Linked DNA regions of Homo sapiens: regions 2 and 3 are each linked to region 1. Evidence: promoter capture Hi-C in human tissues and cell types (Jung and others, 2019). All regions are on one chromosome and are shown on one strand. Each heading gives the region's core, a stretch centred on a gene start or on the middle of the fragment in contact. The rest is flanking DNA. Distances are from core to core; before and after follow the strand shown.

The links. Contacts are between HindIII fragments. The study calls those that stand out against the background at their distance.
Region 2: a fragment that was not itself captured here is called in contact with the fragment with the promoter of ONECUT1 in region 1 in 2 of the 25 tissues and cell types used here (H1 embryonic stem cells and thymus).
Region 3: a contact is called between a fragment that was not itself captured here and the fragment with the promoter of ONECUT1 in region 1, in 3 of the 25 tissues and cell types used here (H1 embryonic stem cells, mesendoderm cells and thymus).

Annotation. Positions count from the first base shown.
Region 1 is chr15:52,788,962-52,792,963 of GRCh38, reverse strand. ONECUT1 (one cut homeobox 1) reads left to right here and starts at 2,628. Exons shown (of 2, transcript NM_004498.4): 1 at 2,628-4,002. The coding sequence starts at 3,080. It overlaps LOC105370824 (a long non-coding RNA gene), which reads right to left and starts at 2,534. Exons shown (of 2, transcript XR_001751550.2): 1 at 275-2,534. RefSeq lists enhancers at 805-1,572, 1,573-2,341, 2,338-2,632 and a silencer at 2,521-2,590. The HindIII fragment of the contact is 12,558 bases long and covers 1-4,002 here.
Region 2 is chr15:52,920,198-52,924,599 of GRCh38, reverse strand. The region is part of intron 2 of LOC107983981 (a long non-coding RNA gene); the gene reads right to left. Among named protein-coding and RNA genes, the nearest start is that of ONECUT1, 130 kb to the right of the region's middle. The HindIII fragment of the contact is 3,545 bases long and covers 463-4,007 here.
Region 3 is chr15:52,970,684-52,974,754 of GRCh38, reverse strand. LOC107983981 (a long non-coding RNA gene) reads right to left here. Exons shown (of 6, transcript XR_932257.3): 3 at 3,217-3,352. Among named protein-coding and RNA genes, the nearest start is that of LINC02490, 140 kb to the left of the region's middle. The HindIII fragment of the contact is 5,009 bases long and covers 1-4,071 here.

The DNA.
Region 1 (4,002 bases), core at 1,379-3,878:
GACTGAGAAACCACTGCAACTCAGTCAATTACGGGAGAACAATGGTTAGATAAATGGTGTGAATAGCCAAGAAAGATTAGGGAGATTTGCAAACCAAAGCAAATCCTGCACATACAATATTTTAATGTTTTAGAAAAAAATCAAAAATTACTGAGCAAGCCAACACATATGGTGCTTCTCCAGGTCTTTTCGTTGGCTCCTTCTTTAGGGACCAACACAGAGCCAGCCCCCCTTTTCATAAATGCCCTTGGGGGAGAGGGGAAGTTGAGCTCACCTGATGCCAGCCTTATTCAGGTGGACTCCAGAGGCTCAGCTGAGTGCCTCTCATGAAGGAGGGTTTCCAAGATCAAGTTCCTAATTAGCTACACAAAGAGAAAACCATGAACAATTTGTGCACTTGGTGGTATTTACTTCTTTCTTTCTTTTAACAAACTGCCTTTTGGGAAGATAGTTGTCATAAGGGCAAATCAATCACTTCAGCGGGATTAAAATATTGGGGCGGGGGCGGGGGGACAACTGTTTAGCTGAAAGACTCCCTGCTACTTTAACCCATTGTTTGGTCTCATGCTGTAGGAAATGAGAATGGAAACAATTAAAAACCAAAGATGCAGCTTTCCACCAAGGTACTGTAATATACTAGGCAGGAAATATATGTTTTGTGCTTGTGTGTATGCGTGTATGAATAGGTAGATATAGATACAAGTTTAAAGAGTTAATCGTGTTTTCTGAGTTCCTTTACATCAGTGTATTTTCCCTAAAATATCTTTTCTTCTCTGGGGGTTCCTAAATTCCTAACTGTTCATTATGAAAGTAGACATGAAATCCATTGAGATGAATTATTTGCAGGGCCTCCATATGCATTGTTTGGACAGGATGGGAGTGCCTCTGGTGATAAAACCAGCTAGATTAACCAGTCCCAGGACATGGCCGCCTTCAAGGAAGTCACGTTGACTGTATCCACTGAACTTGACCTACCTGGATTAGGATGTTGCCCTGGTGGTAGCAGGGACCTGGGCAAAGAGATAGGCCTACTCATGCCTGGGCCGGTGGGAACTTTTCCCAAAGGGTTGGCCAGCCCAAACTTTTGCCTTGGAAACCCAACTACCACCACTACCACAGCCTTGGCCTCTCTAAGGGCTTGGGAGCATTTGCAGTGGAAACACCACGGGTGGGCTGCAGTTCGGTGCCCCAGCAAGCAAACCTACAGTCTGAGTCTGGCCCAGCACAGGCTACACACACTTTATTCCATATCTGAGTCCAGATACCCCGGCTCTGAGAGGCTATTCTCATTGTAACCACCGCTTGCCTGGGGCTGAGGCTCGGCGCTGACCCGGCCATAACTGCCACGGGCTGGACAATGGGCACATCTGTCCTTTCTCTGAGGGATGAAAGCACCTAAGCGGACACGGCTCTGCCTTTTGTTGCGGATTTTTTTTCTTTCTTTTGTAAATGAAAGAAAGCCGCGGCATGTGGCGGCCGGGTGTACGTCTCAAACTGGGGGCCTCCGCACACGTCCCCACCAGGCCCAAAGACCAGGTTCGATTCCAGATTGGAGCGTGACTGTGGGAAGGGCGAAATTACTCCCGAAGCTGAATTGATTTTCAAATCTGGAGGCGTCTCTCGGGGACGCCGGGAAAAGGGCGTCCCTAGGGGCCAAGCGGAGACCCGCGCGCCGGCGTCCACCCTGTCTGCGTCAGTACTTCTGGAAAGCAACCGCCTCCGGGTGCTTTAGCAGGAGGGCCTTGGGAGTAACCGCAGGGACGGCCCGAGCCTCCACGGCCCCACCAGCACCCGGAAGTTAACATGGGTACCCTCCAGGGCACTCCCTCCGCTCTCCCTCGCCCCCCTCCACAGGCCGAGTCATCGGCGAAGCGGACGCACAGCCTTAATTATGAGCTGAGCGGGAGAAGGAGCCAGGCGGCGGGGGACAGTGAGGTATGGCCCGAACTGGGATTCTTGGCACTGATTACTCCTCTCCCCAGGGCATGGATGAGAAAGGGTGGGCAAGTATGTATCTGGGAGGACGAAGGGTGCCGGGTCAACGGCCGCCAAACGGACCCAGCCCTTTAAGCAATCTGCACCCCACCCCACCCCAACCCCCATCCCCCAATAGGCCGTGAATTCAAGGGTGGGAAAGCGCACTCCCAGCAGCCCCCCGGGAAATAAAGCTTAGTGGGCTAGAGCCGAAGGGGTGATGACACAGTCCCCAGCTCCCCGGGCAAGCTGCACCGGGAAGCAGCAACTGGAGAGAGAGGGGCGATGTCTCCAAGCACAGCACTCCAGCCGCTAGAAGCCCGACACGAGCGTCCCCGGGCTGGGAGGACAGAGCCCACTCAAGCAAGGGAGGCGAGCGAGCCAGGCGCGAGTCTCCTGGGATTGCAGCGGCGGCCCCAGGTCGCGCTCTGCGCCAATCTTTCGCACGTGCCCGCAGCTCCCTGGCCATCCAGCGCCGCAGGGAAGGCGCTGGGCCCCCTCCTTCATTTGTACCGGGACGCCAAGGGCCTGGCGCGCCGCGACCTAGGGGGCGGGGGCGGGCCTCGCGCATGCGCGCTGCGCCTGGCGGGCGTGAGGGCGGGCCGCTGCGGCGGCGGCGGCGGCGGCTACCGAACCGCGGCCACAGAGTCTGTAACAGTAACAGAGCCATGGCTCAAGCTGGCCAGCGGGGCGGGCAGGCAGCAGACGCGGCAGGCGCGCGGGCCGCGGCAGGGGAGCCGGAGACCTCAGAATTTTAAGAAAGAGAGGGGCGAGAGGTGGCCGAGGCGGGCGGGCTGGGGCACTGCGCTCTCCCAACGGCGCGGATCCTCTTTGGAAATTAATATTAAAAAAAAAAAAGCCGAGGACGCAGAGGGGAAGGTGGGGGGTAAGAGGGAAGGCGAGACACACACACACACACACACGCACACGCACACACGGACACACACACACGGAGAGAGAGAGAGAGAGAGACAGAGCCCCACAGTGAGAGGAAGGAAGGCAACAGTCGCCAGCAGCCGATGTGAAGACCGGACTCCGTGCGCCCCTCGCCGCCTCTGCCTGGCCACATCGATGTTGTGTCCGCCGCCTGCTCGCCCGGATCACGATGAACGCGCAGCTGACCATGGAAGCGATCGGCGAGCTGCACGGGGTGAGCCATGAGCCGGTGCCCGCCCCTGCCGACCTGCTGGGCGGCAGCCCCCACGCGCGCAGCTCCGTGGCGCACCGCGGCAGCCACCTGCCCCCCGCGCACCCGCGCTCCATGGGCATGGCGTCCCTGCTGGACGGCGGCAGCGGCGGCGGAGATTACCACCACCACCACCGGGCCCCTGAGCACAGCCTGGCCGGCCCCCTGCATCCCACCATGACCATGGCCTGCGAGACTCCCCCAGGTATGAGCATGCCCACCACCTACACCACCTTGACCCCTCTGCAGCCGCTGCCTCCCATCTCCACAGTCTCGGACAAGTTCCCCCACCATCACCACCACCACCATCACCACCACCACCCGCACCACCACCAGCGCCTGGCGGGCAACGTGAGCGGTAGCTTCACGCTCATGCGGGATGAGCGCGGGCTGGCCTCCATGAATAACCTCTATACCCCCTACCACAAGGACGTGGCCGGCATGGGCCAGAGCCTCTCGCCCCTCTCCAGCTCCGGTCTGGGCAGCATCCACAACTCCCAGCAAGGGCTCCCCCACTATGCCCACCCGGGGGCCGCCATGCCCACCGACAAGATGCTCACCCCCAACGGCTTCGAAGCCCACCACCCGGCCATGCTCGGCCGCCACGGGGAGCAGCACCTCACGCCCACCTCGGCCGGCATGGTGCCCATCAACGGCCTTCCTCCGCACCATCCCCACGCCCACCTGAACGCCCAGGGCCACGGGCAACTCCTGGGCACAGCCCGGGAGCCCAACCCTTCGGTGACCGGCGCGCAGGTCAGCAATGGAAGTAATTCAGGGCAGATGGAAGAGATCAATACCAAAGAGGTGGCGCAGCGTATCACCACCGAGCTCAAGCGCTA
Region 2 (4,402 bases), core at 986-3,485, 130 kb before region 1:
GACCCAAAAATGTGACATTGCATAGCAAGAAGCTTTGTATAAGGACTGGTTTGGTATTAAAATTCATCTTTGCATGCAATGCAAGCACACAAATAGTGAAGGTTTTCACTGATTTTTAGTCAACAAGCAATAAACTGCATTTGCACCCACACACCTACTCCTAACACCCCATCTGGTAACATTTCCACGTTTCAAGGAAAGAAATCAATAGCAATAATCTGTGAGGGACTCATAGGGTGTATATTTTTTTATCACACTGCCATTTTAAAAAAATTTTCACCTATCTACTTAAAGCAAAATTTTGTTATTTTTGTATGTTCACATGAAAATCTCGACATTATTACTGGGGGAAAAGGATTAGAGGAGAAAGGGAGATAAGTCAATTAAAACAAATGTGGGAAAATATGTTCAAAACATGTTTTTAACAATACAGGTTCTATTTGAACAACTCAAGCAATAATCAATACACAAGCTGAAAAATCCCCAGTCAACCCACATATTCAAAATTATATTTTGACTCTGTTTCTATGGAAAGAACAGCTAAAATGCACGTGGATGTCACTTCTCAAAGGAAAAAGCCATTCTGCTTTCAACTTGCAGTGCAGGGAGAAGACACCATCCCCGAACCCTGAAATTTAGAACTATGTCATTGCTGATTTTCTGTGCAAGAAGGAAATATGATTCTTTGTTACTGCTCTTATTTATTGCAGACCTTGTCTGGAATCTGGTATTGAAGGCATGCTTGATGAGTTGCCGCCTTGAACTTTCCCACTGATCAATGCCAGCGCTGCTGCTGCATGAAAGAATAGCTTTCCCGAGGAGCCACTATCACATGGAAACCAGCTACCCAGCACGCTTTTTGAAAAATGGGCAAGAGCCTTGTATGCTTAAGCTTCGAAACATGTTCCCACCCCCACCCCCAAAAACTGGCAAATGGTGACTGACCATCTAAAAATTGGAATGTTACAAGAGCAAGAGGTAAGGTCAAAAGCAGAAATCCTCCTTTCTGTAAAATGATCAGACACCATAGGATGAAAACATGCGGGGAAAAGGAAAGCTAATGTGAAGTGAGAGGACAGGAATCATATTTCTTCTCAGCAGGGTGACAAATAAAAAGTTGCCTTTCCTTTTCTGTGCAAATAAACTTTACTTTAGGAATTGTGGCAGTGGTTTGGTCTCCCATAAAATAGGTTTTATCTGCTGCAGTGACAACCTAAGGCAGGGAGGGGTTAGAGGCAGGTTAATTGCCATCGTTTCCATTATTTTTGTCAATATTTTTGTTATTTTGTGGAGAGATTGCAGGGGAAGTCTAGACCAATGCTATCAGGAATGGGGCTAAGAGAAAGGGTTTAATCCAATTCTTGGGCAGTTCGTGTGGAAAGTATGTGTCACTGGAGTAAGCTGGGACAAAAATCCTCAAATATACCCAGGTCGGTCTCTGTAAAAACCCCAGGCTGTCCACACCCTCTACACTTTAGAGGCTTCCCTGAATGGGATGCCCGTGATGAAAACATCCACCAGGAAGAAAGTGGCCTTTGAAAAAGACGTACAATAAGCCGTCCATGGCTGTTGAAAGCCAGTGCTTTCTGGAGGGCCATAACCAACCACCAAAACCTATGAGCAATCGGACCCTCAAACCATGAAACTCCGTCTATCTTAAGAAATGAAACAAGAACAAGATCTGAGCTTCAGTAGGTTAACCTAACTACCTTCACCCACTGTCCATCTTCCTGGGCTTTTCCCAGGCAATAAGTACTTTAACTAATCACTAATCCTGGCTGGGCGTGGTGGCTCATGTCTGTAGTTCCAGCACTTCGGGAGGCCAAGGCAGGAGGGTGGCTTGAGCCCAGGAGTTCAAGACCAGCCTGGGCAACATAGGGAGACCCCCATCTCTACAAAAAAAATAAAAATTAGCTAGGTATGGCGGCATCCACCTGCAGTCCTAGCTACTCAGAAGGCTGAGGCAAGAGGATTTTTTGAGCCTGGGAGGTCTAGGCTGCAGTGAGCTATGATTGTACTACTGCACTCCAGCCTAAGTGGTTGAACAAGACCTTATTTCTAAAAAATAATTAAATAATAAATAGACAAAAATAAAAAATATTACTAATCCCATTGTGAGCCACTTCCATGCCTTATGTATTTTGTCTCCCTCCTCCAGACACTCCTGACACTTGCTGTGTCCTACGGTCATGATTTGTGGGTATGCTGCTCCTTCCTTTCTAGACTTCCAGCTGCTCCATCTATATCTTTTCCCTCTTTGTATCTGCTGTGGCTCCCAGCTCTGAGCTTCATACAGAGTAGACACTCAAACGTTTGTTGAATGACTGATTGAATGAATGAATATAAAGGGCCTCATCCCTAAGTATTACTATCAAAAAGTCACAGCACTATAAAGACACATGCCCATGTTTGTTTATTATATCACTATTTACAATAGCAAAGACTTGGAACCAACGAAAATGCCCATCAGTGATAGATTGGATAAAGAAAATGTGGTACATATACACCATGGAATACTATGCAGCCATGAAAAGAATGGGATCATGTCCTTTGCAGGAACATGAATGAAGCTGGAAGCCATCATTCTCAGCAAAGTAACACAGGAACAGAAAAACCAAATACCGCATGTTCTCACTTGTAAGTGGGAGTTGAACATTGAGAACACATGGACACAGAGAGGGGAAAAACACACGCCAGAGCCTGTTGGGGGTGGGGATTGAGGGGAGGGAACTTAGAGGACAGGTCAATACATGAAGCAAATCACCATGCACACGTATACCTATGTAACAAACCTGCACATTCTGAACATGTATCCTGTTTTTTTTTTTTTAGAAGAAGAAATAAAATAAGAAAAAAATAGTCAGAGCAGAAAATTTCCTCCAGCTCCCATTCCTATTCCAGACTTTCTGGCCCATCTCTAGGCCTCTAGACACACTCAGGCAGGCAGCACCCTGCAAGAGACATTTTGGATTTCTGTCCCTATTCACTAAAACCAGCCAGAAGCTTCTTGCTCCTCCACTCTGCCTGGCTCTTCCTCAAGCTCTGTTTTTCTGAACTTGGAATAATATTGCCACAGCTGCCACAGCTACTAGACCCAAATGGATGGTTAAATTGTGTGGCTCTGTGCTTACCCTGAGCACAATTTTGTACTTACCTTCCAGCTCCCTCCACATCTAGCTGCCACCTCCCCACCTCCCCTGGAATTACGTTCCCCCTAGATGCAGTTCAGGCAGCAGCCCCCTTGACTGATGCTTCCCAGGTCAGATCTGGTCCTGTGCAGCATACAGTGCCTACCACAACCAGAGCCTTCATTTATACCCACAGGCTCAATCCTAGTCAGCAATCGTAGTCCCTAGCCACACCAGCCACCATGGACCAGTGAAGCTTACAGCCACTGTCAGAGAGAACTGCTATATATATCCCAATTCTTACTCCAAGGCTGGGAAGGCAGGTGCTCTGGGAGCAAAGGTAGGGAGTCATAAGTTACAAGAAGATCATGTCCTATTTTTCTTGCAAAGTCACCATAATCAGCATTTGCTGAAGTGGTAAGACTTGGCACCTGCCCATGTGGTACCCAGAACTGAAGAGAATGCATCCATGATGCAATCCCTGACTTCAATGCATAACACCTGTGCATAGTTTGTTCTTGTGTTTGCAAAGTTCCATCAGGCACATTTCCACATTTAATCCAAAGCCCGAAGAGGCAGGTAGGACAGCTCTAGTTGTAGTCCCCTGTTACCCTTGAGAATATGAGGTACTTCCCAGAGAGCACCATACATTACACACACATATTTTTATATGCACATGCTTAGACTGAGACCAACATATATTTGCCAAAAGTAGAATATCTCAATAAATACTGTTGAATGAACAAACTTGTTGGATGTGTTCTCAGGTTCAGACTGAGGCAGTTAGCCCATTTCATGCTAAGCCATTGAAACCTCAGAGCAAGTAATCAAGGATTGCTGCTCCCTCCATGCCAGGGATTCTCAGCAGCAGGGGCAATTTTGCCCCTCACCCAGACCTCCAGGGATATTTGACAATGTCTGGAGAGGCATTTTTGGTTGTCACAACCAAGGGAAATGCTATTGGCATCTAGTGGGTCGAGGCCAGAGATGCTGGTAAACATCCCACAATGCACAAGACAGTCCCTCACACCCACCACAAAGAATCATCCTGCCCAAAATGGCAGTCATGTGGAGGTAGAGAAGCCCTGCTCTATACTCTGCATTTGAGCAGCCACCTCTAATGGACTGCAGTTTATTAGAGGTCCCCATCAATGCACAAAAGAAGGATCCAGGCCATCCTTAGAAAGTATCCTGAAATCTGTGAATGGTATCTTTTTACCCCCAGGTTATGTTGTCTTTATCCTCTCTCCTATCTCCAGAGACACAAAAGGTGG
Region 3 (4,071 bases), core at 366-2,865, 180 kb before region 1:
TAAGGAGTACAGGCCTAACGCTCTTTTTTTATTGAGAAGCTGCAGAACTCTAACCGGTGGTTCAATAAATTGTATTACATCCCCCTCGCACTGAATGCCCTACACGCTATGGCTTTCCATGTGTAATTGCAAGCTGTTATTAGCCCTGAGCTGTGTCCGTTACTGGCCACACTCTTGCTGAGCGGTCAATTTTTTCCCCTGCCATTTCCTTTGCTCACACCATGCTGACCACGTTGGCCAGAGGCGGCCCGAGGTTTATAGTGCAGCATTGATTTTTCTTTTCTCTCAATACTGACAGAATCATAGATCCAAGGCAAATAAAGAAATGCATTCTGGGGTGATGAAATGTCTTTCATTCAGGCTGGATTGAATCAAAGCCCATCACAGAAATGTAGGGCTCTGAAATGCTAGAGAAGCTCATGCCTCAAATTGTGGAAAAATAAATTTTATGTTTTCTCCACTTTCCTTTGGATTCGTAAATCACTGGGGACACAGATAGTCCAGCCAGTGACCAAACTTGGGCAATGGGGACATTGTAAACAAAGAGTCTCTGTTACCACCTTCATTAATTAGGTTATTGCCTGTAATTCTGTTTTGAAGGATAGTCATTTATTAGCTTAAGTAACACCCAGAGTCTTCCACAGAACTGTCCTACTATAAAAATACTGACTGAGGCTCAGTCTCTTCTAAGAAATGCAAGATAGCAATTCACATAGATTTGTGAAATTCAAGCTCGCTGCCTATTATGGAGGGGCAACAATGACTGACTGCAATAAATTGAGGCAATCTTCTTTCAAATAACTCCAGTTGACACTTGGTGAAGTGTAAATATGACCTTCACTAATTAATTTGGTGATAATCATACCTTGTTTATAGACATTAATCCAAGTTTGATCTTTAGCACACACCAGAGTACATGCTCACAGAGACGGTAAGATAGTCAATGGAAAGACTCCTAGAGCAGGAGGTCAGGAGATCTGAATTTTCATCTTTGCTCTTTTCCATTAACAACAAGCCATTAGCCTGAACACATTACTGTACCTCTCCTGGCTTTGTTACTTCATCTGCAAAATAAAGATTGTAATACTGACTATGGGCGGTTTTGGTGGTTCAGTGGAGTGATGTATGGGAAGTGACTGGTACAGAGCCTGGCACATGTCATTCATTTGTGCCTTGTGAGTGGCTGAGTGCTAACTATGGGTAGGCACCAAGGTAGACACTAAGCATATAACGGTAAATAAAGCTGACTCCTGCCTTTGTGGAGACTATAGCCTGGTGGACATCACATAAGGTGCTGAAAATGACTGCTAGTTTATGATTATTATTATTATTACTTGTAGTGGTGAGTTTTACAAATGAAGGAGGTGGGATGCATGAACTTAGGTCCTTTCCAGCTCTCAGGCCCTTTAATCCATGATCAATAATAACTATCTGTGTGTGTACCTTTTCATGCATATCTGATTATACGTATAATTAGTATGCAGAAATGGTTTGCACTTAAGCAGATCTATCTGCCAAATGGCTTATTCTCTATATCCAAGTTTGGGACCATTCAAAACTCATGTGTATATTTATTTGTTTTCCATTCTGCCTAATTCCAAAAAAAAAATATTAAAGTAGTGTATCTTTTAAAAGCAAATTGAAGTTTCCTAGAATGCACAAAAAATAACCCACATTATTTTAATCTACCTGAACATTAAATCCAGGTCCCCAAAACCTGAAAATATTACAAGTATAGCCATTAAGTTTGACTATTAAAGGTACGTAGAGATACCAAGTATCATCTGTGGTTTCTGGTGATCTTAAAGACTAGACACCTCTCTATGACATTTAAGGTTTTTTCTTGACCCAATCAACATCTTTTAGACATTTAAGTTTTAGAGAGAAGAAACTTTATGTTATTTTAGATTTATCCCAGGTGGCTGGCACATAATAGGTGCTTTATCAATGTGAGTCCACCGGTCAACGAATGTCCTAATCAGTCAGGCAGTCAGGCTCTCTTTTAGGTCCTGGAAAAACCTCTATAATTCCTTGGGCTTTGGAAAACATGAATGCAGGAACCCATGGGAGAGGAGAAATTCCGTAAGTCAGAAATGCCTAGTATCTTCTCTCTGTACCAACTGGGAATAAAGAAGGAAGCAAGACTTTTCATCTTTGCTTCTGACTGACTCTGTCTCAAATTGTCCTCTAGGAAGAATGGCCTCTTTATTTTGTTTGGTTTTTAAATATCAAAAGAATATCTCTTTCAATGTTTATTGACACATAAGCTGGTTTTGAACAGCCTTTACCATTTTTCTGAATTTGGACAGTGACAGGTCACCCCTTTGAACATCTGTTTGATTTTCTACATATAACATAATTCCAATGACTGACGTAGAATTATAAGCTTAAATTACATGCTTATAAAATGCTAATATGTATAACATGTACTTCTTCTGTTTTTTAGATGATCTAGTCAATTATAAAAGCCATTACTCACACAAGGTACATATGTCAATTTAGCACCGTTCTTAATTCCAGACTCTACTATTCTTAGGTAATTTATGTAAAGTATATATTATAATCACTTAAGCCAGGATATACTCTGCTCAGTTCTACCTTTGGCCCTGAGGAATGTGCATTCAACAAGCATTTTCTAAGCACCCAGGACATGTCAGGGTCTGGATCTCTGCCTTCCTGGAGATCCCTGGGGAGACAAATGCAGCAAAAATTCAAGATTCAGCCAGTGGGGGCCATGATAGAGGACGTGCCCAAGGATGTGGAGGCCTAAGGTACAGTTTGCATCTGGAGTGAGAGGCATGGGCCAGAAAAGGCTTCCCAGGCATTTCTGAGATGAGATTTGAAGGAAGAATAGGACCAAGGGGCAAAGGAACTTGAAGCAATCTGCAAAGGAGGAGGAAGAGTCCACAGGAGTCAAGGGAATGTGTTCCTTGATTTCAAGGTGAGTATTCTCTTGTATTCACTTCCTAGAATGACCCAGAGCTGCTCAGCAGAACATTCAAAAATGTTAGTGCTGGGAGGGGGAACATTCCAGGCTGCGGGGTGGGAGTGTGTGAAAGAAAAGACCATATATCTTGCGATTTCTGCTGCTCAACACAGCAGGAATCTATGAATGGGTCCCGCCAACACTTCCACATGTGGAGAGTTGCTCGCCCACATTTCAGAATCTCAGGGGTCCACGTCCCTGCAAGTGTTTCCCCACAGACCGAGACTCACCCAGCAGGCTCTTGGAATTGTGACAATGGCCTCGTGGAGCATCTGAAAAGACAAGACCCATCTGTGACTGCTCAGGGTGAACGAGACTCAAGTTGGCGCAGCAAGGCTCAGCTTTCATCCACCTCAATGGCCGGGGCTGGAAATGGGATGAAGGGAATGAGGTAGAGAGAGATAAAGTCAGCTTTGGTAAGGAGAGAAAGACAGACCTAGAGTCAGCCTGAGGCCAGGAGGACAAAGAAAATTCACCCTGAAAACTCACCCTGTCGACTCCCAGGAGTGGTCTGACAGTGCACGTTTATCATTCACCTTAATTCAAATCAATTCTGATTTGCGAGAACATCAGCTGTTTGAAGAGATAGGTGACTTCGCCAATACATTCTTGCTTATCTTTCTCACTGACTAAATTAGTAAATTTAACTATAACAGGAAGAAAAAAACTTCAGGGATTTGGCAAGTAAAAAATATTTGCGTGGATCAAAAGGTTTGAATGAAATACTCATTTTGTGTGTGTGTGTCTAAGGCTGCACAGATAAAGTATTTTCCGACTTTACAGGAAACTTCAAGTCATCTAAGGGATGAATCATGCTGGCATATTAGGTGCCAAAAACCAATGCAAAACATTAAAAGTGTGTGATGGATTGTTATTAATATTATTATGACAATACAGTAACTGTTTTGGAACAAGATGGATTTAAATTTTTTAATTGCACAAGATTATTCTTGCACTGGTCCCTTTTAGAAATTTTCAGAGTTAAGAACTTCCCAGACACTACCCAGTATCTAGAAGGGCAAACACACCCACTTTGGGTAGATTCATATGAACCTTAACAGTCTCAATGATCTCCCCAGGATCAA